Regions from separate parts of the Homo sapiens genome. Here all the other regions are linked to region 2. Evidence: promoter capture Hi-C in 16 types of primary human blood cells and fetal thymus (Javierre and others, 2016). All regions are on one chromosome and are shown on one strand. The core of a region is centred on a gene start or on the middle of the fragment in contact, and the rest is flanking DNA. Distances in the headings are between cores, read along the strand shown.

The links. The method cuts DNA at HindIII sites, captures the fragments that hold promoters and counts their contacts. A CHiCAGO score of 5 or more calls a contact.
Region 1: a contact is called between a fragment that was not itself captured here and the fragment with the promoter of SLK in region 2, in 7 of 17 cell types (naive CD4 T cells, total CD4 T cells, activated CD4 T cells and 4 more). The highest score is 8.9, in naive CD4 T cells.
Region 3: a fragment that was not itself captured here is called in contact with the fragment with the promoter of SLK in region 2 in 2 of 17 cell types (non-activated CD4 T cells and total CD4 T cells); the score reaches 5.9 in non-activated CD4 T cells.
Region 4: a fragment that was not itself captured here is called in contact with the fragment with the promoter of SLK in region 2 in 9 of 17 cell types (activated CD4 T cells, total B cells, fetal thymus and 6 more); the score reaches 8.5 in activated CD4 T cells.
Region 5: a fragment that was not itself captured here is called in contact with the fragment with the promoter of SLK in region 2 in 16 of 17 cell types (total B cells, naive B cells, activated CD4 T cells and 13 more); the score reaches 11.4 in total B cells.
Region 6: a contact is called between a fragment that was not itself captured here and the fragment with the promoter of SLK in region 2, in 1 of 17 cell types (activated CD4 T cells). The highest score is 5.1, in activated CD4 T cells.
Region 7: a contact is called between a fragment that was not itself captured here and the fragment with the promoter of SLK in region 2, in 7 of 17 cell types (M1 macrophages, naive CD8 T cells, M2 macrophages and 4 more). The highest score is 9.2, in M1 macrophages.

The regions. Positions count from the first base shown.
Region 1 is chr10:104,206,379-104,210,414 of GRCh38, reverse strand. CFAP43 (cilia and flagella associated protein 43) reads left to right here. Exons shown (of 38, transcript NM_025145.7): 6 at 2,591-2,750. Among named protein-coding and RNA genes, the nearest start is that of MIR609, 10 kb to the left of the region's middle. The HindIII fragment of the contact is 9,235 bases long and covers 1-4,036 here.
Region 2 is chr10:103,965,734-103,969,599 of GRCh38, reverse strand. SLK (STE20 like kinase) reads right to left here and starts at 2,460. Exons shown (of 19, transcript NM_014720.4): 1 at 1,705-2,460. The coding sequence starts at 1,854. It overlaps LOC102724351 (a long non-coding RNA gene), which reads left to right and starts at 2,555. Exons shown (of 5, transcript XR_007062282.1): 1 at 2,555-3,819. RefSeq lists silencers at 1,939-2,038, 2,049-2,098, 2,139-2,598. The HindIII fragment of the contact is 5,644 bases long and covers 1-3,866 here.
Region 3 is chr10:103,741,888-103,745,605 of GRCh38, reverse strand. The region is part of intron 3 of SH3PXD2A (SH3 and PX domains 2A); the gene reads left to right. Among named protein-coding and RNA genes, the nearest start is that of SH3PXD2A-AS1, 3.0 kb to the left of the region's middle. The HindIII fragment of the contact is 5,889 bases long and covers 1-3,718 here.
Region 4 is chr10:104,097,379-104,101,379 of GRCh38, reverse strand. No RefSeq gene overlaps it. Among named protein-coding and RNA genes, the nearest start is that of COL17A1, 13 kb to the right of the region's middle. The HindIII fragment of the contact is 1,596 bases long and covers 1,592-3,187 here.
Region 5 is chr10:104,138,755-104,143,069 of GRCh38, reverse strand. It overlaps CFAP43 (cilia and flagella associated protein 43), which reads left to right. Exons shown (of 38, transcript NM_025145.7): 33 at 677-789; 34 at 2,069-2,228. Among named protein-coding and RNA genes, the nearest start is that of SFR1, 19 kb to the right of the region's middle. The HindIII fragment of the contact is 2,048 bases long and covers 803-2,850 here.
Region 6 is chr10:104,158,182-104,162,138 of GRCh38, reverse strand. CFAP43 (cilia and flagella associated protein 43) reads left to right here. Exons shown (of 38, transcript NM_025145.7): 26 at 98-178; 27 at 977-1,102. Among named protein-coding and RNA genes, the nearest start is that of SFR1, 38 kb to the right of the region's middle. The HindIII fragment of the contact is 3,887 bases long and covers 1-3,416 here.
Region 7 is chr10:103,712,519-103,716,878 of GRCh38, reverse strand. All of the region lies in intron 5 of SH3PXD2A (SH3 and PX domains 2A), which reads left to right. Among named protein-coding and RNA genes, the nearest start is that of SH3PXD2A-AS1, 32 kb to the left of the region's middle. The HindIII fragment of the contact is 8,786 bases long and covers 1-4,360 here.

The DNA of each region.
Region 1 (4,036 bases), core at 561-3,060, 240 kb before region 2:
AGCCTGGGTGACAGCGAGACTCCGTCTCAAAAACTAAACTAAGCTAAACTAAAATAAAAATAATTCAGTGTGAAGATTAGTTCATTCAAAAATCTCTGTGGCAAGCAAGAGAAAGGGTTACATGCCCTTAATATTTCCTCTAATGAATGTCAATGATTCACCTTTTTAAATTATGGAAAGAGATTATAGTCAATCTCCTGCATTCGTGGGTTCCACTTCTGTGTATTCAACCCACTGCAGATCAAAAATATTCAGAAAAAAGTTGTATGGTTGCATCTGTACTGAATATATACACACTTTTATTTCTTCTCGTTATTTCCTAAACAATATAGTATAACAACTATTTATAAAACATTTACATTGTATTAGGTATTATAAGTAACCTAGAGATGACTTAAAAGTATATGGGAGAAAAAATAAAATAAAATAATTAAAAATAAAGAAAAAATTTACAGGGGGATGTATGTAGGTTATATGGAAATACTATGCCATTTTATGTAAGGAACTGGAGCATCCACAGATTTTGGTATCAGTGGGGGGTCCTGGAACCCATCCCCTGTGGATACTGTAGTTCCTTTTATAGCACAGGTCTCAGCCTTGGAGATATAACTGCATTCAGCCACAGTGGGGCAGCAAAGGAAGAACAAAGAGATCAGCCATCAAGGTTTGCAACTCAAATTTTTCTATGTTTAGTATTTGGTGCCAGAGCCCCTAAATTTCTACTCTCTCAAATTGGGTTTTTCTGGGCAGAAAATATGTGTAGGAGCCCTTATATTTCACATTTTGTACAAACATAACGAACTCTGCATAAAACATTTAAAATTCAGGCAATTGTCCTTGTCATTTGAGAAATGCTATGAAATGCCTTCTTTAAATACTCAAATGTGGAGTTATTATTTTAAAATGCTCATAATAGACATCTTTATTTTAAAACCTTTTTTATTTGTATAAATTTAAGGGGTACGCCTGCAGTTTTGCTATGTGGATATATTGTCTGGGCAGACATCTTTATTTCCTAGGACTTGTGCACTCAGTGTATTTTAAATTTTTCTGAAAGCAGAAATGTAATATTATAGTTTGACAACCCTAAATCATTCATGGATTATTAATAAAGCCATATATTTTGTATTTAAGTTAGACATTTTCCCAGTAGTTTACTTTTTCATTTTGTAGCAAAATAAAGTGAGGAAAATGTTTAAAACATTAATTAATGTCTGTACAATGAGTGAAAGCATAACCAAAAATAGATCTCAAATGTCTTGATTCTATTCCCTCCTTCAATGTCATTTCTTGTGACCTGGGTACCAATGGCAAGGGAATCAATAATGACTCGATCTGTATAAGGTCTTAAAAATGGATAAGTTGTGGACTTTTAAAAAATTACAAACATCAAATAATCCCATTATCTATTCATAGCTAATGCCAGAAGGGTACATTACAGGACTTTAAATAGCCCTGAGTCACATTACACAACTTATTTAGGGCGTTAGAAATGTATCCAGTTTTAAGTCGTAGCATGGGGGAAATCAAAGGCAGATGTTATCTGGGCAGAAATTGGATCCAAGATCATGAACTTAATCTCAAGTGTCTAATTTCTATTTTCCATCTACCTTTTTAATTTTTTCAAACAGATGTTGCTAAATAGGAATCTCTTTTAGAGACTCAAATATTTTGAAATATATATGGATTTTTACATTTTCTAAAGCAGGATTAAATTGGACTGCAATTTTTCATGTTTTGTCATCATGTGATCAAAATGATTTCTGATTCTAGAGGACTGAAAAAGGAGATGATATTATCAACAAACATTTCTAAACACTACTGGTACCCTTTATTTTTAAATATCTCAGAATTATAAACTATTGTTTCTGCTTACATAATCCATATACTCACATTCATTTTTAAATGTCATCAAATATATTTATTGATGAAAAAGTAATAGGAAGACAAGCCCAGGTTTGTCTTAAAGAAAAAAAAGCCACATACAATACTAGTTTAACATACCAAGGCCAGAAAATTTCAAATTTTAATCTTCACATTTTGTTTTATACACACAGATTCACTGGTATTGTGCAAATGAGAGACATGGTGTTTTGTTGTTGTTTTGTTTAAGATTTTGATCCTATTGTCATTTCAGTTAAGTCTGTCTTTGTGATTTATAGTTTAAGGTTAGATGTCATAAAAAAAACTCAGGAAACTTTTCAATAATGGTGATAACGGTGAATAACTCTCTTCCTTATGAGTCAAATCTCAATCAGACACCACAGAAGTGTCACTATTCAGCAGCAGTTTAATTTTTTGGAGTGGGAAAGGTGGTTTGCCTTTTTCTTGATCCACTGGGTGACCAGATTGTTACCCAACTATTTATTTTCTAACTATCTAAGGCTATGAGGGCATGAAAGGTACAAATAATAAATTAAAGTCAGTCTGTCCTTAAAAAAAATTATTATGATGAATGCTCAATGTTCCTATGTTTTCTGCGTCTATGGGGTTAAGTATGGTTCCTTTTTGTCAGTTGTTCTGGTGAGTATTTCTCAGGCTTTTAGCCGTGATTGTTTTCTTAACACAAGGTTTTATTCTCTCCCTGAAGCCGAAAGATGATCTATATCCTTTGCTTCACCCGACTATGCATTGCTGGACTCCAACAAGTGACTTGTACATTGGCTGTGAAGAGGGTCATCTTTTAATGATTAATGGAGACACCTTGCAAGTGACTGTACTTAATAAGATAGAAGAGGAATCGCCATTGGGTAAGAAACTGTCCTACTTCATATTCCTGTATAGCCATGGGTGTTGGTTTTTTTGGTTTTCCCTATTTTTCTCTTTCTTGGAGACATCTTTGAATCCTCCTTCTTCTTAATCCTCTGGCTGTTACTGTGCTGTTGGCATTCTACCATCACTTTATATGCATATTTCATGTAATCCTCAGAACAACATTATGAGGAGAGACACCTTAATCTCCACGATACAGAAGAGATATGTTAGGAAACATGGCCCAGTCCACGTAAACTGTGGAGCTGACACCTGAACCCAGGCAATAATACCTCAGAGTCCAAGTTCTTGGCTACTGTGCTGTATCCTTTTCTATACATATGCCCATTCTGCTTAGTCTGCTAATCATACCCTTTCCTGCCCCCACCCCAACCCTTTTCTCCAGGCTGATCATCTGTTAAGCCCAAAAGCCATCTTGAAAATTACCTTTCTATTGCTCGGTTAGAGGTGTTGTTTTTTTGGTTTTTTTTTAGACAGAGTCTCATTCTGTCACCCAGGCTAGGATGCAGTGGTGCAATCTTGGCTCACTGCAACCTCCGCCTCCTGGGTTCAAGCGATCTCGTGTCTCAGCCTCCCAGGTACCTGGAATTATAGGCACACACTACCACGCCTGGCTAATTTTTGTATTTTTAGTAGAGATGGGGTTTCGTCATGTTGGCCCGGCTGATCTTGAACTCCTGACCTCAAGTGATCTGCCTGCCTTGGCCTCCCAAAGTGCTGGGATTACAGGCAGGAGCCACCACACCCTGCCATATTGCTCAGCTAGAATTTGAAAGATAACCTGATCTATTCTGCCCTAGATATAGTGTCTATTCCTGACCCTATCAGCTGTGGCCATGGTTGGGCCTGGGCCACAGGAGCCACTGTCCACTCATTGAGCAGTAGATGTAGACCCTGGGAGGAGGGGGCCTTGCCAAGACAAGCTCCTCAAACCTGTCCAAAGCACTCTCTATTTCAATTGCTCTTACTATTTCACACCTTGATTTCTGTAACAACTTTAGGATGGACTTCACTGACCTTAATCTACATCTGACCCAATCTATGCAGTTTATCTCTGTCAAATTGCCTCTTTGAAGGCCACTTTTAACACCCAGCTCAAGAACTGCTCTGCCTTGATTTCACGCTCTCCCTAATCTGATCCTACCTACTCCATTAATATTATTTCCAACTATGCCCTGGTATGAGTTTTCTGAGCCAGTCATTTATTTTCACCATTTCACAGACATGCCTCTAGCCCATTCCCTTGGCACTTACTGTCTCTGAA
Region 2 (3,866 bases), core at 1,211-3,710:
CCTATGATAGCTTCCACGACAGCATTCATATGCAGACAAAACACATTCTTTCATTTCAACAAATAAACAGACACATCACTATACGCTAAGGCAGTGAATGAACCCAAATATGTATCATAATTTTGGCCCTTAATTTTATTATAGAAACATAAACATATTAATTGTAATAAGTGACAAGTGCTATAATAGCCATGTGAACAACGTGTTCTGAAAGCACACAGAGAGGAGTAGATATTTTAGCCTGGATAAAGAATGAGGACTGGGGTTTTGACAAGATGCATTTGAGGCAGGGCAGAGGCAGAAGTGTAATGGTGCTTAGAAAGTAGTAGGCAGCCGGGGACGGTGGCTCACGCCTGTAATCCTAGCACTTTGGGAGGCCGAGGCGGGCGGATCACCTGAGGTCGGGAGTTCAAGACCAGCCTGACCAACATGGAGAAACCCTGTCTCTACTAAAAATACAAAATTAGCCGGGCATGGTGGCGTATGCCTGTAAACCCAGCTACTACGGGAGGCTGAGGCAGGAGAATCGCTTGAACCCGGGAGGGGGAGGTTGCAGTGAGCCGAGATCGCGCTATTGCACTCCAGCCTGGGCAAAAGGGGCGAAACTCCGTCTCAAAAAAAAAAGAAAGTAGTAGGCAAAATGCTCTCATTTCTACCAGTGACTGTTAAAATAAAAAACAATACTAAATATGGGCTCAGAAGACCTGAGTTCAAGTCTAGGCTGAGACTCATGTGACTGTGAACAATTTCAATATCTTCATCTGTGAAATGTGGATACTAATACTGACCTGCCTACCTCACAAGATTTTTGTGGGGGCCAAATTATTTGAAAGTACTTAAAAACTTCAAAGTCCTGTATAAACATAAGTTATTTTCTTACGTTTTCACTTCTAGGCAACCCTGTGGGTCCTTCCCCTAAACGCTGTCTCATAAAAAATTCGCCCTTCAGGATGAAAATACTCCAATGACATCATTCATATGTTCCTTAGGAGATATTAAATAGTTAACATTAATGCCTTCAGGTTGAAACGCCAAGCCTCTTTCTATTGAAATAAATACATGCGTGTGTGTTTTTAACTGCTTAAGCGCTGATACTGACTTCTAGTCAATGCTTACCATAAATATATTTAAAACTAGTACCACATGAAGGTTTTTTGGAAATTTTGTCAGAAATTCCATTCTATTTTATAGTATGCTGTCAAGCAACTAACTCAAGAAGAGACTGCAAGTAGCAATCACTTTGATCCCAACTAGTTCTGTATTAGCTCTAGATACAACCAAATATATATACTGGACCCTAAAAACAGAACTGTTGGAGTACAAGCATGCACGCGAATGCAGTCAGTAGACAAATCCACTGCAAAGTGCAATGAGTTTCTCATTCTAAAATACTTGAAGGGCACAACCAGACCCCTCCTATAAATTAAAGAACACTCTCATTTCCTTTGAAGTTTGAAAGAGTAGACTTTATAACCCTGTCTCCTTTTCCAATCGCTCTTTAAACTCCATCCAGGCCCCATTTTGTTCCACCGTAAACCCGACTTCTTAGCTACTCCTTGGATGATCAGCCAAGTAAAGTTGCATCGAACCGTAACAGTCAAAAGAAGGACAGGATAAGGACCAGGGGAGCAGAAGTCCTCCCGCCACTCCAGGCCAGTGGCTGTTTTACCTTCGCAGTACAACTTCCCGTTTTCCCCCTCTTACCTTGTACACTTTCCCAAAGGCTCCGTCGCCCAGTTCTCCTATAATCTCCCAAAAGTCTTCGGGGTTCAGGTCCCTCTTCACGTGTTCGTACTGCTTCTTCTTCTTCTCGCTCCCCAACTTGAAGATCTTACGGAAATTGAAGAAGGACATTTTTCCTCCCAACACAGAGTTCCTTGCACTTAAGGACTAAAAACAATAAAAGGCAAAGTTTCTCTTCCCTGCTCTCCCGCGCGAGCCCGGCTGGCGGCGGCGGGCGCGGCGTCCCTCGGCCCCCGCAGCTCCGGCCGGGCGGTCCCGGGAGAAGGCGGGGCGGCGACCCGGGCTCCGGCCCGCGGTGGGGGTGCTGCGCGAGCGGCCCCTCCGCCGAGCCCGGCCCGCGAGCCGCGCGGTGGGCGCCTCGCCTCCGGCCCACCCTCCGGGAGCGGCACCTGCCCGCAAGCTCGCTCCCACCCGGCCTGATCCGACGGGTCCGAGCGGTCAGGACTCCCGCGGCGGCGGCTTAGGCCCGTGTCACGGCGAGTCTCCAGGGGCGGCGGCCACTCTGGGAGAGAGAAGCGGCCGGCGGCCTCGGAGGCGGGCAGTCGAGAAGCCGAGCCCTCCCGCCTCGGGCCGCGAGCCTAGGGTCTCCTCCGCCGCCGTCCGCTCCCGCGGCGCAAGGCCCGCGCGTCCCCTCGGGTCTGGGGCGCCGCCGCCGCCGCCTGTCTCCCTCCCCAGCCCACACAGCCTCGGCCTGGAGCGCGCGCCGACGCCGACTCCGTAGCGCGCCCGCGCGCTTTCCCGGCTGCGCGCCCGCCCGGTCACGCGCCCTGCTCACCGCGCGCTCGCGTGGGGGCGTCCCCTCTGGCCCCGCGCACGCGCGCTACGTCCCTCAGACTGGCTGCCCCCGAGGGTTCGCGTGAGCGGAGCACGGGGCTCGGGGTGCGGGGGGCTGGTGTGATGGACGCATTTGTTCTTCGGTCCCTGACGATTGTTTCTCATTTGCCCTCCAAGCCCCAAATCCTGTCAGTCCACGGCCTTGATGGAGCGGCCCCCGTGGGACGACCCTGTTGATTGTGCTAGCGGATGTTGTCTCCATTCTGGATCTGGGAAAAACTGTGGAGTGAAAGCCGGACCTGTTAGGGTTGGGACCTGAAAGCGGACTTTTTCGCTCTCAGACGGGCCCCAGGTACAGTGAGAGGGGAGTTTGTGTGGTGGTTGTGAGCTTGAGCTTTGGAGAGAGAGATCTGTGACCTTGGGCAGGTGACCTCTCCGAGCCTCGGTTTCCTCGCCGTAAAATGAAGATCCTAATAGTCCCTACCAGAAGGTTGTGAATGAGACAATAGATGGAAGCCCTTTGCGCGGCCCCTGCACCCGTAAACGCTCAATCTTAGTTCTTACTCTTGTTGTTTTAAGTGTGCAGGCAAGATAGACACAGATACATAAAAACTGTTTAAGACCACTTCTCTTTTTTTTCTTTCTTTCTTTTTTTTTTTTTTTTTTTTTTTTTGAGACGGAGTCTCGATCTGTCGCCCAGGCTGGAGTGCAGTGGCGCGAACTAGGCTCACCGCAAGCTCCGCCTCCCGGCTTCACGCTATTCTCCTGCCTCAGCCTCCCGAGTAGCTGGGACTACAGGCGCCCGCCACCACGCCCCGCTAATTTTTTTGTATTTTTAGTAGAGACGGGGTTTCACCGTGTTAGCCAGGATGGTCTCGATCTCCTGACCTCGTGATCCGCCCGCCTCGGCCTCCCAAAGTACTGGCGTGAGCCACCGCGCCGGGCCCCCACTTCTCAACTGATGACTGCGACACTCCCTTGAGGGTAAAACTAACTTCTGGCCACCTCCACAACTGTAAACCTGGTGTCACTCTTGGTGACTCCACCTCAGCTAAGGCCCCCACTTCCTGATCTGCCTCCAGCCCCCTTGGGCAGCACTCCCTGGTGGGGCAGTGTGGACGTTGGCTGGAATCCGTCAGGTGGTGACCTACCTTCCCCTCCTCCACCAGACGGGAGCTCTTTCAGGCCAGTGGTTTGTTGTTCATCAAGATATCCAAGTACCCGGCAACATTCCTGGCATATAATAGGAAGGCAGATCTGGTGAATGAATGAATGAATGGCGGTATCTGGAGCAGAGACAATGTATGTATATATTGCTATTTATATAATGTCTGCCCCCCCAGTCATTT
Region 3 (3,718 bases), core at 297-2,796, 220 kb after region 2:
TGACCTGGAAGTGTCAACTCATAAGAGATCCCATTTGTTCACCATTTGCCATGGGCTGGGCTCCATGCTAAATGCTTTTACAGACTCATTCACTGGCTCCTCGTAATAGTCCTTTGCATTAGACATTACTGCCTCCCATTTTGTAGTCTGAGGAAACTAGCATTCGAATAGGTTATGACTCATCCCCTGTCACATAACAGTAACTGGCAGAGCCAGATGTACCAGTCAGGACTCTCCTGGTGACAAGAAATAGACCCATCTCAATCTGGCTTAAGAAAAAAGGGGAAACTTATTGGTTCACATAACTGAAAACCAAGAGTAATGGTTTCAGGCATAGCTGGATCTAGGGGACCAAATCTGTGTCTCTTAAGCCCTCAGCTTTGCTGTCTTTTCTGTTGACTTAATTCTCTGATAGGCTTCCCCCAGGTGGTAACAGAGATACATAAAGATGCTTCCTAGCAGCTTGGGGCTTGGCATTTATGAGTTAGCAGCTGTAGAGAGAGAACACATCTCTTCCTGGTAGTTCCAGCAGTAGTCCCAGGCTGATTCCCACTGGACCAATGTGGGTTGCATGCCCATGGCTGGACTGTACTTAATGATCAGCCCCAGAGTTTGGGATGGGATCAACCCCACTGAAATCCCATGGACTGAGAATGAAGGAGGGATTGTTTCCCAAAAGAAAATCGGGCACTGTAATAATTAAAAGCTGGCAGACAAAACCTACCAATGTCTACCATGCTAGACTTCAAGCCAGAGGCAGCATCTTGGCTCTAAAGAGAGATTCATGGGAGCCAGAACTCAGGGCATGGTGTCAGTATGCCTCAGGCTGCTGACCTTCGCTATGGGGATTGTGTCTTTCCGGAACCTGCATGTGCCCACTGCTTCCAGCCTCAGCATCTAGGCCTCACTCCTGCCTTCCCCCAGCCCAAGTAAATGGCAACAAAGCCAGATGTTGCAAGTGAAGAAGGAAGGATTGGGTGTCAGGGTGTGATCTGAGCCAGGTACAAGGCTGTAGACTCTGGGGATGTCATCTCAGCTGCACCAGAAGCTGGAGGCAGCCCAGCAGGGGAAGAGGTGACCTGCAGTCCCCAGGCTGCAGAGGGTCAGAGGTGACATGTGAGTTTCAGGGGCAGCACTTAAAAAGACAAGCAGGGGCCAGGTGCGGTGGCTCATGCCTGTAATCCCAGCACTTTGGGAGGCTGAGGCGGGCGGATCACCTGAGGTCGGGAGTTCGAGACCAGCCTGACCAACATGGAGAAACCCCATCTCTACTAAAAATACAAAATTAGCCAGGTGTGGTGGCACATACCTGTAATCCCAGCTACTAGGGAGGCTGAGGCAGGAGAATCGCTTGAACCCGGGAGGTGGAGGTTGCGGTGAGCCGAGATCATGCCATTGCACTCCAGCCTGGGCAACAAGAGCGAAACTCTGTCGCAAAAAAAAAAAAAAAAGACAAGCAGGGGCCTGCCATTCAGCCACTCCCACCCTAGCCTAGGCAGGGCTAACCCAGGTGAAAGCTGGGTGGCCCCATGGTCAGGAAACAGCTGAACATCAAGAGCAGGGCCAGCTTTCAGGAAGACAGGGGAGCCAGTAGAGGCTGTTCCGCCGTTCTTCTCCCCTGCCCATTACATCCAGTTCCATCAAGGCCTCTCTGCTCTATGCTCTCTTCCCTAGCGAGACCCTGTTATTGAGTGAGAAGCCGGTGCCTGCTCATACTCAGGTGTGAATGGTTAATAAGGCTCACTGTACCATTCTCCAGGAAAAAGTTGATATATCTTGACGAAAATCTTAAAGAAACTAAATTCTGATTCTGCAATCTCAGGCATCAAAGAAGTAGATTGTGAGTTTGTTTGTTTTTAGAGTTGGGTATTCTTAGGGCCCAGGGCATACCCTCTTGGTGTCTGCTTGCTTTAAACCATCAAAAGTCCCAGCCTGGGCCAGGTGCAGTGGCTCAGGCCTATACTCCCAGCCTTTTGGGAGGCTGAGGCAAGAAGATCACTTAAGACCAGGAGTTCGGGACCAGCCTAGGCAACATAACAAGACCCCATCACTATAAAAATGTAGTCGGGTGTTGTGTGCACCTGTTACTTCGGAGGCTGAGGTGGGAGGATCACTTAAGCCCAGGAGTTCAAGGCTGAAGTGAGCCATGATAGAGTCACTGCACTCCAGCCTGGGTGGCAGATGAGATCCTCTCTCAAAAACAAACAAAAAAAGAGTCCCAGTCTGCTTCTCCTTGGACCAGCTTGGATCACCGAGCCTCAGTGACTCGGTGAGTTGGGGGTTGGTAACAGCCTCTCTGAAATCAAACAGACTTAGAATGAAAGAGGGGTCGTTTGTGTTTTGTTTTTAATGGTGAAGAAAGCCCCATTAGTGGAATCATGGTTATATTCTCTCTGCCCTCCCCTGCCCAGGGCCCTTCATTTAAGAGCTTCTGTCTTCATCAATCTGTCAGCAAACAACACGGATGGAGGCGCCTGGTGAGGGCAGCTGGACATGGGATCCTTGGCTGGTCCAGCCCACTTTGCACAGGGACCTGGTCAGGTCTCAGGACCACAGAGAGCTGTGGGAGTAGGAAACTTAACTTCTCCTCCTTCCTCCCACATGCATTGCCTGTGTCTTATCACCCCACGAGCATGCGTGTCACCCTTGAGGGGGGGAGGGAGGTTCCCTCTAGGAATCCTCACATCTTCTTTCCTCCAGTTCATCTGGGAAATCTGTTCGTCTCTTCTCTCCTGGGTGTCACATCAGCCCTCAGAGCCAGAGAAGGACCCGCCCCCCCATTCTCTCGGCTTCAGGTCCCCACAGCTTGCCTGTCTCCTCTCAGGCTGAGACTCCGGAGCTGCTCTGTTCAGACACTCCCCTGTCCCCCACGAGGGCTTCAGGCTGCACTCATATCCATTTCACCCAGCGCCATGCCAGACATTTCCAGGGATTCAGGGAGTATAGAAACCACCCCTGTCCTTGGGGCCACTGAAATCCGCTTAGGGATATAGGGCCCTGTCAGGTGACTGGTATGCCCTGTGACTCTCCCATAACTACCCTGCGGTAGGTTGAATAATGGCTCCCAAAAAGATATATCCAAGTCCTAACCCTTGAAACCTGTGAATCTGGCCTTATTTGGAGAAAGGGTCTTTGCAGATGTAATCAAAGATCTTAAAATTAGATCATCCTGGATATAGGGTGGGCACTAAACTCAGTGACAGGTGTTCTTATAAGAGAAAGGCAGAAGGAGATGTGGGACACAGGCATGGGGCGGGAAGGCCATGTAAAGACTGAGACAGAGATCGGAGTGATGCTGCCACGAGCCAAGAGATGCCTGGAGCCCTCAGAAGCTAGAAGAGGTGCAGAAGAACTCTCCCTGATGCCGCCAGAGGGAGCGTGACCCTGCTGGCACCTTGATTTCAGACTTCTGACCTCCAGAACTGGCAGAGAATACATTCCTGGGTTGTTGTTTGATTTGAGACAGTCTCACTATGTCACCCAGGCTGGAGTACAGTGGCACGATCATGACTCAGTGCAGCCTCAACCCCCCAGGCTCAAGCGATCCCCCTACCTCAGCCTCCTGAGTAGCTGGGATCACAGGCGTGCGCCACCATGCCCGGCTGATTTTTTTTATAGCATTTTGTAGAGACAGGGTCTCACTATGTTGCCTAGTCTGGTCTTGAACTCCTGAGTTCAAGCGATCCTCCAGCCTCGGCCTCCCAAACAGCTGGGATTA
Region 4 (4,001 bases), core at 1,140-3,639, 130 kb before region 2:
TTAACTTTCTACTTCAGAAACACTTTTCAGTCTTTGTGATGAAATCCCTTTGACCATTAACTTTTCAGATCTTGGAGCTAATGGAAATTCTCCCACCCTACCCCACCCCAACTCTATTTGTGTGAGCATCAGAGAAAACTCCCATGCTTTTCATCAGCCATCCATTTGTGTCTATTCCTCCTAGCCTAAAAAATCCTCATAAGCCAATTAAGTAAATTAAGATTTACATAAACAGCTTGGTTCTCCCAGTCCTTCCTCAGCTGCCTGAGTTAACCTAGACAAACTAAAAATAGAAACCCAAAAGACAAATACTTGGTGCATTTTTAGCCCTTTAAAGGAAAACTCCCCTTTTGTGCTTTTTCTGTGGCAAGGACATTGTCCTCTACTCACAAGTTATTGCTAAAAAAACAAACAGCGTTGCACACTGGCATGGAGTTCCACATGGGGTAAATCCATACAGCTGCAGTCAACTGGGATATCTTTTCCCAGTGATGTCTGGGTTTGTTTCTCCAGGTTTTCAATTTAGATTGTTCACTTGGTTTCAAAATTACATATTAAAATGTGTAATTTAAATTATGGTCATATGTTATGAATCACTTCTTGAACCTTATTTAGGATATTCTTGCAAGTTCCACAAGATGATTATAAATACTTATCTTGAAGTTAATGTTGCTTCTTGTTTGTTCTAGGAAGAGAGAAGAATTGCTTATTGAACGTTTATGATATTTAGCTCATTTAAAAATTTAATTAAGTATGTTAGCTGCAGGCCAAAGAGGGAGGATTTGAGATATTCCAAAATAATAACATTTTATTTTAAATGTTAGTATCTCATTTCAGGTACTCTTCCTGCTGTTGCTGTTTCACGTAACATTGATGAAATGAACACAATCTGATTAATGTATGGTATATGGCAAAAAACATTACCTTATGAAGTATATTTTATTACGTGCCATCCTAACTATGCTGCCAAGTATTCTGTAAGTATATAGGCTAGCTGAGCCTCGTTCTTACTTCCAAGAGGAATGAGTGGATGGTAAAGACCATCAAGAATAGGATTATTCTGTCTGGGTGCAGTGGCTCATGCTTGTAATCCTAATACTTTGGGAGGCCAAGGCAAGAGGATTGTTTTAGCCCAGGAGTTCAAGACTAGCCTGGGCAATATAGCAAGACCTCATCCCTACAAATAATAAAAAAAATTAGCTGGCATGGTGACACATATCTGTGGTTCCAGCTACTCAGGAGGCTGAAGTGGGAGAAGAATTGCTTGAGCCCAGGCAGTCAAGGCTGCAGTGAGCCATGATCACACCACTGCACTCCAGCCTGGGTGACAAAGCAAGACCCTGTCTCAAAAACAAAAAACATACAAACAAAAAAACCAGAACAGGGTTATTCTATTTAAGTTCATCATCACTATCACATTTCACTGAGAATTGCTGAAACTTGCACAGCATTTTAGTGGCATAGATTTGCTCTGTAAATTTTTGATAATTCTTTAAGCTCCTCATGATTTAGGATAGCTAAGAGCCTGGAAAATTATTTTAAACAATTTTACAGAATGGCATAGGAAAAACGATCAAGCAAACAAAAAGCTTTCATACTAGTCCTGACTCTGCCATTAACTACCCTCAGCACATTATTTAGTTTACCTTCTCATTTTGCAAACTAGGTGACCCAAACTAGGTAATCTGTAAGGTCTCCTTGAGCTCTAATATTTTATGATATTAATATTAGAATTATGCCCACTTTTACTAAAATTACTCTCAAAGCTCCTAATATCTTCTGAGAGTAATCTCTTCATAGTACTTTTAAGTCGTGGGTGTCTACGTGGCCTTTATCAAGAGGAAGTTATAGTCTTTATATATGGGGTGAATCACTCTCAGCCTTTGTAAATGTGAATACCTCTCTGTGAAGTCAAAATATTTTGCATGTAACTTGATATATTTTGATGTAACTTGTACTTCTGTAATCAATTGATTGAAAAATTAGGCAATGCCAGGGCGCTACTCCAACTCCAGTAACACTTTAAATGAATTTGTGTTTATTATTCATAACAGTACCTACATATATTTGGAGCATACTATTACTTATTATTATGAACCAGTGAGGATGCTTTCAAATTTAATAACTGAAAATACCAACTCAAATTGGCTTAAATGATAAGGAAGTTTATTATCTCACACACAAAGAATCCAGAGGTAGGGTAGTCCCATGGTTGTTTATTCAGGCTCTCAATGTTGTCATTGAGGAGCAAGGATGTTTTCAATCCTCATCTCCTCACTGTGGTGATACCCTTGTGAGTGTAATGCATTAGCACGTCCACATCACATGCAGATGTACCAATGTCCTGAAAAAGAAAATGGCTGTTTCTGCTTTTTCTCCTTAGAAGCAATAAACTTCTCCTAAACATCCTGAAAACACTTTTCCTCATGTACCATTGGCCAACAAATGAGTCACATTTCTTCCTAAATCCACCACTAAAAGGAATGGATGAAAATTAACAATTTTGGGGGCAGAATGGGAAGGTAACCACTATGATTGCAATAATGTATAATATAATATATTCGTAGTCCACAGATAGTGCTTGCGCACAGATTCCTTGTCATAATGCTACATGTACTGAACACTTCTGCTCCCAAACATTCTGGAAATTCTTGGTCAATTCCTCACTCTAAGACCAAAGCCCATTACTGTTGCTACACTACTAATGATTTGTATTCTGTGGGGAAAAAATGAAATTAATGGTTCCTAAGTAAATCGCCCTAACTTGTGTGTATGTCTTTCCTAGAGGATACATCTCAAATATTGCAACAAATAGAACATATGATGCAATTCTATAATTTCAGTGAAATGGACGAGCTCTTGAAAGACACAAGCCATCAAAGCTCTCTCAAAAAGACATAGATAACCTGAATAATTCTGCTTCTATTAAGAAAATTTTATTTGTAGGTCAAATCTTTCTAGAAAATAAAATCCCATGCTCAGATAGCTTCACTGAAAATTCTGTCAAACTTTTGAGAAAGAAATAATACCAATTCTACACAAATTCTTCCAGAAAAATAAAGGAAAAATGAGCAATTCCCAGCTTATTTTATGAGACCATTATTATCCTGACCAAAATAAGGCAAAAAATTTACAAGAAAGAAAAATCTATAGACCAATATCTCTCATAAACAAGGACACAAAAGCTTTTTGTAAAACATCAGCAATAAAATGCAGCAATATATTAAAAGGAAAATGTGTCATGTCCAAGTGCAATTTATTCAGAGAATACAAGGTTGATTCTACATTCAAAAACCAATCAATGGATAGAGAGGCCTTGTCTCCAGAAAATAAAAATAAAACAAAGTAAATAAATCCATAGGAGTTATATCAGTGAAAATGATGGAGTAAGAACCTTTTTTTTTTTTTTTTTTTTTTTAAGCCAGAGTCTCACTCTTATTGCCCAGGCTGGAGTGCAATGGTGCAATCTCGGTTCACTGCAACTTCTGCCTCCCAGATTCAAGTGATTCTCCTGCCCCAGCCTCCCAGGTAGCTGGGACTACAGGTGCCCACGACCATGCCTGGCTAACTTTTGTATTTTCAGTAGAGATGGGGTTTCACCATGTTGGTCAGGCTGGTCTCGAACTCCTGACCTCAGGTGATCCACCCACCTCAGCCTCCCAAAGTGCTGGGATTACAGGCATGAGCCACCACACCTAGCCAAGGACCTCTTAATATTTTCTCTTCTGTGAAGTAATGGGGGGAAGTGGGAAAAATAGTCACAACAACTTTTTCAGAACTCCGAAAATTAACCAAAGTCTTGCAGCAACCTGGGAAGTATTTATTCAGGAAAATGGCTCAGTAAGAGCAGCAAGCTTTGTGGCATTTTAACTTGCCCTATTCCATTCCCTCTCAACTCTGTGGTATCTTTGAAAACCAATAGCCCACAATCATGGTGAGAAGCAGGAGGCTGGCAGCCACTGGAGTGGACAGAATGAGGTCGGAGTTCCTTCAAAACTGTA
Region 5 (4,315 bases), core at 577-3,076, 170 kb before region 2:
TTGATTATAGGTTGAAGTGATAATATTCTGGATACATTTAATTAAAATATATTAGTAAAATTAAGTTCATTTCTTTGATTTCACTTTTTATAATGCGGCTACTACAGAATTTAAAATTACATATGTGACTCACATTTATGGCTCACGTTATATTTTTCTTGGACAGCACTGTTGTAGGTTATCTCATTTTGCATAGATTAGAATTATATTTGGCTCAGCAGAACCAACTTTATAGTTTTGCTAGAATGTGGCAACGAGTAAAAATTTAAGAGGGTCTTTATTTGGGAAGAGAATCCTTCCTCTTGTTGCTTCTTGACCACTACCCCAAATTCCCTAAATTTAATGCCCACATGCATCAGGCTGGCATATTTTTGTTAAAGTACCTAGGATTCTATAATTTCACTTAAAGTGATGAGAACAAATTTTAAAAATAAGATATAAAAGAATTTATAGTTGCCTGCATACTTGATTTTCACCAAGAAGCAAATTTGATACTTTCAAATCGTTCAAATTGTTACATACCATGTAAGTTTTAGACATTTAAATTTAAATGTTTTATTACTTTCTTCGAAAGATAGACCTGTTAAGGTTTTTAAATTTAAAAAGTTAAAAGATGTATGTTGTCTAAAATTGAAGCTCCATATGTTCTGACATGTTTCTGGCTTGGTTTCTTTAGGTAAAGCAGAAAGCAGCTGACTTATTGGAAATGGCAACTTTCCTCCAGAAGAGAGTTGAGGAGGAAGAGAAGGTGCAACAGGAGATTGAGAGAGTGTTCCATGAACTCATCCTGTAATTTGAAGCTTTCTTTCATGTTCACCTATTCAAAGTCTAATTAGGGCTAAATCAGGTTGTGTTATCACTGGGGAGAATGCCTACTGACTGCTTTACAGCCATCTCCCTTCCAGCACTGTGCTTTAAAATTTCTATTTTAAAAAGCCTGCTTTGTTACATAGACCTTGATTCAGGATGGAACTTTCCCACGTTTTGTTGCTCTTATTACAAATAAGCAAGTTTCAGAAAAATCTTAGTATTGTTTTAAGTCGGCCCCTTCCACATAAAAATACAAAGAACCTGTTTTTCAGTACTTTGGGGCTCAAGGCATATAAGCTAACCATGTGGAAAATTAAGCAGATGTCTAAGAACTTTCCATGTAGACACGCAGCCAACTGATATATTTTTCTTTAGGGGAACTTGTTGTTTACTAAGTGATTAAGATATTTAAGTCCTTGCTTCATTTTTTGGCTATATTTATAGCCTCATCGATAAATACTTCTCTGATGTTCCCAAATTCATTGAGAACACATCATTTTTAGATCTAGGCTATAGCGAGGATATGAATTACCCAGAAATAGATTTGTTAAGTAACTTACATATTAAATATTGTTAGTATAGTATCAGAAATCAATAAATAAGTTCAGAATTTTAATAGAGTTATTTTATTTATTTATTTATTTATTTTGAAATGGAGCCTCACTCTGTCACACAAGCTGGAGTGCAGTGGCACGATCTGGGCTCACTGCAGTCTCCACCTCCCAGGTTCAAGAGATCTCATGCCTCAGCCTCCCAAGCAGCTGGGATTACAGGTGCCTGTCACCACCCCTGGCTAATTTTTGTATTGTTAGTAGAGATGGGGTTTCGCCATGTTGGCCAGGCTAGTCTCGAACTCCTGACCTCAGATGATCCACCCACCTCGGCATCCCAAAATGCTGGGATTACAGGCATGAGCCACTGCGCCTGGCCAGATTTGTTATTTAAAAGTGTCTCTATTTTCTTCATTTTTACTTTACTTTTATTACCGTCAAAATTATACAATCTTTTCTTAATCCTAAAGTAAAAATCTATAAATGTATTTCTGTCCATACCATTTTTTGAGCAACCCAGGTATAATTCTGCATCAATAGGAAGAGGTTTCAGAGAGACCTCTAGGAAAGCTCATCATCAGGAAAATATTCTCCACACTAATCTCCAGCATGTTTTCCTTAAGCTGATTCGATTTTTATATTCTCAGATAATAGGTGAAATTTGAAATATATTACAACTACTTGCTTTGAAGTACTTTTCAATTCAGATTACAGGAAGAGAAAGTGAGATTCCAGTTGAATTTGACAATCCAAATTCTTCTTAAACAAGGACAAGTAGAACTGGAAAATTTCCAGCTAGTACTGGAGTATTCTGATGCAATTCTCATCAACAAGAACATAATTGAAGACTTGAATTCTGTGATTCGGGTAATTATACTTTTTATTTTTATTTTAATTCAAGGTCTTGCTTTGTTACTCAGGCTAGAGTCTTGTGGCACAATCATGGCTCACTGCAGCCTTAACCCTTAGCTAGGCTCAATAGATCCTCCCACCTTCACCTCCCAAGTAGCTGGGAGTACAGGTTCACACCACCACACCCAGCTAATTGTTTTAAAATTAGTTTTTTGTAAAAACAGAGTCTTAATATGTTGCCCAGGCTGTTCTCAAACTCCTGAGCTCAAGTGATCCTCCTGCTCTGGCCTCCCAGAGTGCTGGAATTAACAGGCAGGAGCCACTGCACCTGGCCAATTATACTTGTTTAAAGACAAAACATATTGCCTGCTGTACCAAATATTTTACATTATTCTCCCATTTTCATAAGTAATTTTAATTCAATTAAGTCAGTGGTTTCCTAACTGTGGTTGCACATTAGAATCATTTGAAGAACTTTATAAATGTGCTCAGACCCCACCCCCAGGATGAGTATTTTTTAAAAGCTCCCTCCATAATTCTAAGGTTCAAGAAGGATCACAGAGCTAAATGTCCATTCTAGTATGCCATCGTTTTTTTAGGCCCAGCCTACTCAGGCAAAGATAATCTTAGATAAGCTTAGTTAGTTGATTTCAGACCTTACTTCTTTTCTAATATGAACATTTAATGTTATTTCTGTATAAGCTTTAGGTATAATTGAGTCCTAAAAAAATATTCCCTATAAGCTTTATTTTATCTGTATTCTACAAATTTTAATATTTTGTGTTTTAATTTTCTTTTACATATTTTCTAATTTCTGTTGTGACTTCCTATTTGATTCATGGGTTATTTAAAAGCGTGTTATTTAATTTCTAAATATTTGCGGATTTTGTGCTATTTGGGAATTAGATGATAATGCTACTGTACATTTTATTTTTACAAATGCTATAAACACAAAACATATTGCTATTATTTTTTGCTTTAGACAATTATCTTTTAGAATAATAAAAATGTGAAAAGAGGTATTTTCTATTTACCTTAATTTTCACTATTTCAAAAGATCTTTATTTCATTGTGTAGATCCAAATTTCCATCTTGTATCATTTACCTTCTGCTTAAAGAACTTCCTTTAACTTAATTGAAGTACAAGCCTGCTAGTAATGAATTCTCTCCATTTTTCTTTATCTGAAAAAGTTTTTAATCACCTTCATTGTTGAAAGATACTTTGCTAGATTCACTGGATTGCCAGGTTCGTTCATTTGTTCTCTCTCTCTCTCTTTTCATTTTAAAGATGTTCATTTTCTTCTGAACATCTAGATAGTTTCTGACAAGGTTTCTGCTATATTTTTTATCTTTGTTCATCTGAATTTAATGTGTCTGGCTTTGAGATTTTTTATTTGTTTTTCAGCAGTTTGAACACAATGTGTCTAGGTGGGGATAGGGGGCGGTATGCACATGTGTGCGTGAGATTCTTGAGCTTCTCTGAGCTTCCTCAATCTGTGATTTGATATTTGTCATTATCTTTGGAAAATTCTTATTTATTATCTCTGAATATTTCTTCTGCCCCTTTCGCTCTCTCTTTTTCTACTGGGATTCCAATTACACACGTGTCAGATTGTCTGATACTGTTCCACATCTCTTAGATATTCCATACTCATTGTTTTTCACTCTTTGTTCTCTTTATGTTTCAGTTTGGGTAATTACTATTGCCCTATATTCAAGTTCATTCATTCTTATGCTGTGTCTAGTCTGATAATGAGCCCATCAAAGGCAAAATATCTGTTACCATATTATTGTAGATAGATAGATAGATAGACAGACAGATAGATAGACTTACATTTAGTATTTCTGTTTAACTTATACTTTCCATCCCTCTGCTGAAATTCCCCATTTGTTCATGCATGTTGTCTATCCTTTCCAAAAATTTTTGTTTTAGAAAAGTTGTAAAGATAGTACAGAGAATTCTCATATACCCCTTATCCAGTTTCTTATATTTTATTATTTTCCATCAGTATGGTACATTTGCCACAACTATTGAACTAATATTGACACATTATTATTAACTAAAGTACAAACTTTATTCACTTTTCCTTAGTTTTTACTTA
Region 6 (3,957 bases), core at 224-2,723, 190 kb before region 2:
CAGTCATTCTAATGTTGGGTGGGAAGCTGCCTCTGGAGCCACCTGGAATGTCAGGTCTCTGTCTCAGTATTCCTCTCTGATTCTGGCTCTTTCCCAGGATGCCAGTACAAGACTCCGAGCTCTGATGGACATGATGGGAGGAGTTCTGGAAGTCAAGAAGGAAGATATTTTGAGAATGGTGATATTTCTGTTCATCCTTATAGAAGGTGGAATGGGGTGGAAAGAGCTACTTAAGTTTTACCATTTTTGTCCTATATAAACCTGGGTTTTAGAAGTTCTACAGCAACAACTATTATACAACCTCCGTAGTACCTTATAAACCTACCACATTAGGGCCTGGCGTGGTGGCTTATGCTTGTAATCCCAGCACTTGAGGAGGCTAAGTGAGGAGGCCAGGAATTCAAGGCAGGAGGCTAGGAGTTCAAGGCTACAGTGAGCTGTGATCACACCACTGCACTCCAGCCTGAGAGACAGAGCAAGACCCTGTCTCAGAAAACCAAAAACATACCACGTTAGACAGATAATAAATTTGAAAATGCAGGTTTGCCTTCCAATCTGACAAGACACAAACAAATCAATAAAAATAAGTAACTACAGTGGTTTTGGTCTCTATTGAAGGCAGGAATACTGTTTCATCAGTAATTATCCAGATATACCAGGAAACATTTTCTTTGATACCTGACATAGGTTTTCCTGGGGCTCAGGGGTAGTTCTCACTATAAAGATACCAACACACCCCTCTGAGTCTATCACCTAAGAGTCCAGGTATATCCCACCCTGCTCACCTTCACCTAAGTCACAGAAGAACTGTTGTAAAATTTTAAAATATCTTTTGCCCAAGATGTCAGGTCGTTTTCCTTGCCAATGTGAAGGACTGTATCCTTTTAAAGGGCTTTTTAAAAAAAACTCTGAGCTTTTACTGTACTACTGCATTTAACGTTTGAGCTGAAATATATGCTTTTCTTCATATCTTCAGGTGATTCCTCAACCTGCTTTCATGGCAAAACCTGATGCTGTGTGGACTGAAGAAGAAAGAAAACAATTCAAAGATTATGAGAAAAAAGTAAAGGAGTTAAATGAAGAAAGAGATAAGTATAGAAAGGTCAGAAGAGCAAATAATTAATATAACCTACCATATCCAGAGTGCTGTTTAAATATCTTTTCAAATGTTTTCTACTTTGTCGATATCTTTAATAGCTTAAGGACAGTGTTTCAGCTTAAATTCTCAAGAGAATTTGGAGAAGTAAGTGGAGATAAATTTAAGGAATTAAACCAATTTTAAAGCAAAGAAACATACAGCAATAGTTTTTTTAAAGCTGTTATTGATTTCAGCATTTCCCGTGTCATTACAATTCATTTGGCCCTTCATTCATTCTTCAGGTGTTCAATGAACCCCTAATACAACATGTTCAAGTCACGGCAAGGTATTGCTCTGTGTTGTGTACATTTATTTGAATTCAGTAATACTTTTGCTTGATTTGTTCTCCATCTCAGGAAAAAGGTTTGAATAACAAATGGCATAATCAATGCAGTACATTATTTACAACTCAAATTCAAGGTTTTTACAGTGCAGTTCTGCTACTTTTATCCCCATCCATCAGAAGGAAACACTGTCACATTAAAATTGCTCACAATTACAGTAGAGATATAAAAGACGGTGATGTGCAGTCAAGTAAATAATATTTATTCTTCTAAGAAGGAAGTAAAGTCATACCATCATTCAAGGTAGGCCAGCTTTCCAGCTTGCTAGTGGCTGTATCTCATGAAGAGCTTCTTTGAATCTGTTGTGAACCTGTCCACATTTTTATTCACTGTGGCCCTGTAGGGTCCCTTGTATTTTAACCTAAAATGGTTCTTACTCAAAGCCAAAATCAGTAATACTGAAAGAAGTAAAGATTTCAAAGAGTTATGGAGTATAGATGCCTAAGGAATAAAGGCTGATGACCTATCAACTACATTTACTCCACAGTTTTGTGTTGTAAGATAGTCCACTGCCTGCACCCTCATGTCCCTGCACCTTCTTTGTACTCACCTGCTGAAACCCCAGCCTTGATTAAATCTGATACTCTGCCTTCTCTGCACCTGCACCCATGAAGTGGCTAAAGAAAAACTATTGACTGGGTTTACTCAAAATTATGACCTTAATCTCAACTGGGTCCTTAGAGCTGGTCCGCAATGCTACTCCATTTTTCCCCTAGCCAAGTGCTCTCACACTTGAATGCGAATCTGCATCACCTGGGGGATTTGTTAAAAATGCAGGTTCTGATTTCATTGTTTCTCTGTGAAAATGGAAGGACGCTGAGATTTTGCACTCCAAATAGGCTATTGCTGTCCAGTGGACCCTACTTTAAGTAGCAGGATCCTAGAGTACCATTTCACACCCGTTGCGCATCTCCCAAACTTTCAACACCTGACGCCCTCAACTCACTCTCACCTTATTTTCTATTTTACTAAGAGAAGAGAGACAACTAAAAGTTATTTCCCTTACTCCTCTACTGCTGCATCCACCCGCCAGCTCCACTGAATCCATGGCGTCTGCCTTTCTGCTTCTTATGGGTGAAATGGCCTTGCATCCACCTAAGCCTGGTCCTCTCCTGGTGCACTAGTCACCATCCCATCTCACCTACTCAATGTCATTACTCATCAGTTTACCCTCTTCTTTCCTGCATCATCAATTTTTCCCACCCTGTGGATTTTCCCCATCAGTGTAGACACATGCTATAATTGTATACATCTCTCATCTTATTAAAAAAATACTTCCTGGAAGGAAATGCTTGAGTTCTTTCTACTGTTCTTGTGATATTTGGGTCAGTATAAATTTATTTCAAAACAAAAAGTAAAAGGAAAAAACCCAACTCCTTTGGCCTCTCTTTCCCCCTGGATCACTCAATGTCTCTGCTCTCCTTTACTGCAAAACTCAAAAAAATCTATGTTGATGGTTTTCAATTTCTCTCTCAAGTAAAAAAAAAATCTTGTATCGTGGAAAATGTCAAACATGTATAAAAATAGAGAGAACAGTATAATGACCCCTTTATCCAGCTTCCGCAATTATCTACTCACGGCCAATCTTAATTCATTTTATACCTCCACTTACTTCCCTAACATTGGATTATTTTTTTCACCAATTTTTATTTTAGAATTATTCAAATGTACATAAATGTTACATGAATAGTACCATCTATATACCATATATTTGTACCAATGGCATATATATTACGTATATGTTATATATATATTGTATATGTATACCTGTGCACATCAGTTTTTTATATTGCCACATTTGTTCTCTTTTTCTCCTGAATAGTTGGAGACAAATCACAGATATCATGATATTCCTAAATATTACAGCTTAAACCTCCTAAGAACAAAAATATTCTTCTACATAACCACAGTAAAATTATCATACAAAAGAAGCTTAATATTAATATGATTATCTAATTAAGTCTATATTCAGATTACCCTGTTGTCCAAGTAGTGTCCTTCATAACTTTTTTTATTGGTGTTTATCAAAAAATCTAATCAATTTCACTTAGTTTGTAATGTTCTTTTAGTCTCCTTTAATCCACAACAGTTCTACAACTTTGTGTTCCATGACATTGACATTTTTTAAAAATCGAGGCTTATTTTTTTGTGGCATGTCCCCCAAGTTGAATTTGATTGGTTTCTCATGATTAGATTTAGGTGCAGTATTTCTGACAATCATACTAAGTAGATGATGCTGTGTCTTCAGTGCATCGTATCAGGAGGTTCCAGATTTCAGTCAGTCCCACTGTTGGTAACATTAAGTATGATCACTGGAAAGAAGGTTTCTCCAGATTTCTTTGTTATAGAAGTTCTCTTTCTCCTTCGTGTGTAATAACTAACCTGTGGGGGTGACATTTTGAATCTGACTCTCTGTTCATTCTGTCTTTTGGCATCCATTGATGATCCTTGCCTGAATCAATTATTACTGTAGTG
Region 7 (4,360 bases), core at 1,592-4,091, 250 kb after region 2:
TCCACTTCTGGAGATGCAAGGCTGCCTTTGCAGCCTCAGGGCTGAGGTTGCAGCCTTCTTGACCACTGCTGGCAGTCCAAGCCTGTGGGCAGGGTGGGCACACATGCCTTTGGTGCACCCATATCACAGAGGGGAAAACTGAGGCCAGGGCTGAGCTGATCTGCCCTGCTCTTGTCACTCACTTAGTATCTTTCTTCTTGGGCCTCTTACCAGCCCACTGGCCTTACCAGCCCACCTCTTACCCACGATGGGACACATAGTGGGCCCACACAGTGGGTAGACAGTCACCTCCCACTTCCTGCTCTCACCCTGGGCTTATCCCTTCGGCTTGTTTCTTCCTGCTGAAGCCAGCCATGATCCTGGTTAAATTCTTGACATTGCATGGGAGGAGCAGATAGCCCTGCTAAACTGGTTTCTGTTCTTCAGCCCAGGGCCACAGAGCCACCCTCTGTTGTACAGTAGAACAATGCCCCAATGTTCCGAGGGACCTGGGGTGAGAGGAGGATGGACTGAGGCCAGGCCAGAACCATCCCTGCCTCAGCCTGCCCATCAGGGGCCCCCAACACTCCCCATGGGGCAGAGTCCACCCCCAGTGTCCCTGCCTCCTGCGGGGAACCCCAGGGCAGGCCAAAAGGGGAGGCCATCCTGCGGGAGGCCTGCCCCAGCCAGAGCACAGGTTTGGGAACTGGGCCGGGCTGGTTAAGGTGGTGCAGGGGCTGGCTTAGGACACTGAGGGAGGCTGCCAGGGAAGGAGGGCCAGGGCAGAGGCAGATGCTGCTTGGGGCCTGGGGTGGGAGGAGGTCAGACTCAAGAAAACACTCTCCTCTGCATGACTTTCTCATCCTCCCCTCCCATTTATATTTTGGGGATGGTTGTTTCATCTTGGACTGCATGGTAAAATTGTGGGGAGTCCAGTGAGGGGGACAGAGGTTGTTGCTGCCATTTGCCTGGGAGAAGCAGAGCCCAGGAGGACAGATGAACTCTGCCAGCCCTGCTTCAGGGTTCCCGTAGGAAGACGAGGGGCAAGGTGGTGTGTGTGGCAGTGCAGCTGGAATAGCACTGAGAATGTGGGGTGTCTCCTCCAGGAGCCCCACATCCCCAATCCCAGTCGAATGCCAGGTCTGGCCTGTTCGGGAAGGCAGGGCGACTGCTCGGCTTATGTCTGGCTGCCAGCCTCTTGAGTTAGAGTCCAGGCTTCCCTGCTCACCAGCAGCATTGCTGTGGGTTGACTGCGTGGCCTTCCATTCTCTGTAAGTCACCCGGAGTCACTGCTCCGGCACTGGGGAGAATGAATTGGGATGATGCGTGTGGATCACAAACTGGGCACTGAGTCATACACCCTCCTACTCCCTTCCTTTTCCTAGGAGGCAAATGGAAGGTTGTGGACAGAGCCCTGGAACCTCTCCACAGCAGCCTCCCTTCACTCTGCAGGTAGTTACTGAGTGCCAGCTGTATGCCAGGGACCGCGTAGGCTAATCACCTCAAGGGTCAAAGCTGAAATTGTGAATTGAGTTAAATTAACTGCAGTGGCAACTGTGGGGACACCCAGCTCTGCCTGTGAGCTTGAATGGCTCACTTCTCCTCTTCCAGTCTGTTTCCCCATCTGTGCAAGGCCCCCGTGGTACATGTGGCAAAATGATTGTGAGGTTCAAGGGAGCAAATGCGTAGAAAATGCCCCTATGTACTTAACCCATCACAAAAGCTCAGGAAATGGGATTTTCTGTTTTTCTTCTCCTTTCCTCCATTAGCCCAGGCCTGGGTACAGAGCAGCCACCCCAAAAAGGCTGGGGGAATGGAATTGGGTTGGCCGAGCTGAAGGTGAGAGCTGGGAGAGGAGCATCTCACCGCATCCCTCTCTGCTCTGGGAGTCCTGGCCAGGGCTGGTGCTGCCTGTGGAGCGAGGCTGCCCCTACCACCCTGCAGGCTGTTGGAAACTCCAGGGCATCCCAAGTCCCTGTCTCTCCTGGGGGATTGGGGTAGAAAGTCCACCCACACATGCCTGGCTGCATTCTGGTCAGACACCTATCATCAAGATGGCTCTGTGTGCTCTGTAAAGCCCTGCCACCACCCATCTGGCCAGGGACGTGGGCCACACTGTCCTTGCAGCCCCCTGCCACTGGCTGCTGCACAAATAGCCTCTTTATGTTGATGGGCAGGAGGGCCAGCTGGACCTTGGAGCTGTGGGAGGCTGAGGGAGGGAACAGAACGTTAGATAAATAAACCTTGTCCATCCCCTGCCATGCCCCCTTCAACCTGGGTGGGCAGGTGGCAGGAAAATGCCCACAGGAAGCTGTGTCCAACCCACTTGAAAGGGGCATTGGCCGTGGGGAACAAGGACTTCTGCAGGCTCAGCTGTCATGCTGGGTCGGCGAGCTGGAGGGAAGCAGATTCAAACACCCCCAGTCCAGCCCAGCTCATAGCGCACACGCCTGGGAGGCCCATGTCCAGGGAGAGAAGATGACTCTGTTTTCAGGCCTGGCACAGGATTTTCTTCAGGGTGGGGAGGAAGGTGGCAGGGAAGGGTATCCTGGTGCAGGAGTGTGTGGGGGTAGACTGGGTCCCCCATTAATTTCTTGGGCTTGTGCATTCTATGTTCTCTGAAACCTCAAGACCCCCATGTGCCCACTCTCTTACCCCCAAGGAAGGCCTACAGAGCCCTTTGGAGCCTCTGGCGGAAGGGGTAAGCCCTGGAAGAGCGCTGAGGCCTGCTTTGCTGTTATGTTGTGTTCAAGGTGGGTCTTGGTTCCCCTGTGGTTATCACTACCCTCCATGTTCCTAGTCCCTGGGTAGTTACCCCTCCATGGGGAGTTTAAGGCAGAACTGAACCTAGAACCTGGGTCTTCGGCCACTGGGACCAGCCTTCCTCTGTTGCATTCTTGTGGGAGGCGTGTGTTCATGCAAGTGTTTCTAGATCATCTCTATGTGAGGCCCGGGACTTCAGAAGTAGCTCAGTCCCCACTCTCGGGGCCCTGGTGGTCTAAGGGGGAGGATAGCATGGCATGGGCCTGGCTTGCTTCCACAGGAGGCAGCAGACCATTATAGGCTCTGGCAAACCCTGGCTCCTCCCCCACCTGCTGTGTGGCCTGGGAATTATTTAAACTCCCAAAACCTCAATGTCCTTGCCTATAAAACAGGGCTTATAACAGCTGCTGATAATGGGGAAGACAGAAAAAGAACAACTGATTGTAATAGGTGCAGGGCCTTGCGCAGCAACAAACCAGCCTGCTGAGGTGGTCAGGAAGGCCTCCCTGAGGAGGTGGCATTCAGGCTGAGACTAAAGCAAGAGCTCACTACTCAAGGAGAGTGGCAGAGGAGGGCATCCAGGCCAGAGGGAGTCCCTGAGATTGTGTTTCAAGGATTGAAAGAAATTTCATCTTCCGTGAGAGTAAGGGATTTTTGGCTAGGGCTAGGCCAAGAAGAGATAGGCCTGAGGCAGTCATTAACAATCGCTACACTTCAGCATCAGGTAAATGGGCAGAACCTAGGGGTCTCTGGGCTATCTCCTGGCTCTGACATTCTGAGGTCCTAGCAGAACCAGTTGGCTATTGCAGTGGTCCAAGCATGCAACAGTCAGGATCTAGAGAGGGGCTGGATGGCTGTGGGAATGGGAGATATTCATAGACATAGTCCGAGATGAAAGGGACAAGCATCCAGAGACCTTGTGACTCCTTCCCCTTCACAGGCTCTGTAAGTTGGATCTTGAGGGTGGTTGGAGTTTGGGCACGTCTGTAACTTTGGGTCACTTTGAAGCCCTCGGTTCATGAGATACATGTGTATCTGGCTCCACCCCATGGCCATATCGGATATTACAGCTCCCAGCGTCTGGCTGATGCTGTACTAAAGCCGTGCTGGACCCTTGAGCATGGTTTATCTTGTTTGAGCATCCGTACAATCCAGGGAGGCCCATGCTCCTTTCTGCAGATGAGGGACCTTAGGCTGAGACTGGTTGACTTACCTCTCAGCTAGGAAGTGTCAGAGGCTGGACTCATGCCATTGCCCTTCAGCTCCAAGTCCACACCCCACACGGGGGTGAGCTGAGGATGAAGTGAGAAGCACCTGACCCTTGGCTGGGGCAACTAGCTCCAAATTTCAGGATGGGACCCTTCATCAGACAGAAGGGCAGAATAACTGCATCAGGACGCCATGGTTGCCATGGTCACCACGGGGGCTGAAGGTAGAGTTGAAGGCATGTGCCACATTTGGGATCTTTTAAGGGGAACCCAGGTTTCCTGCTGGGCCACATCCCTGAAAAGGTACAAGGTTTGCTGAGACTGCCAAGTCTGGTCCAGGCCCCCCAGGGCAGCCTGTTGAGACCCTTCCCCCAGCCTCAGGAGCTCCAAGGAGGGGCTTCCTATCCCAG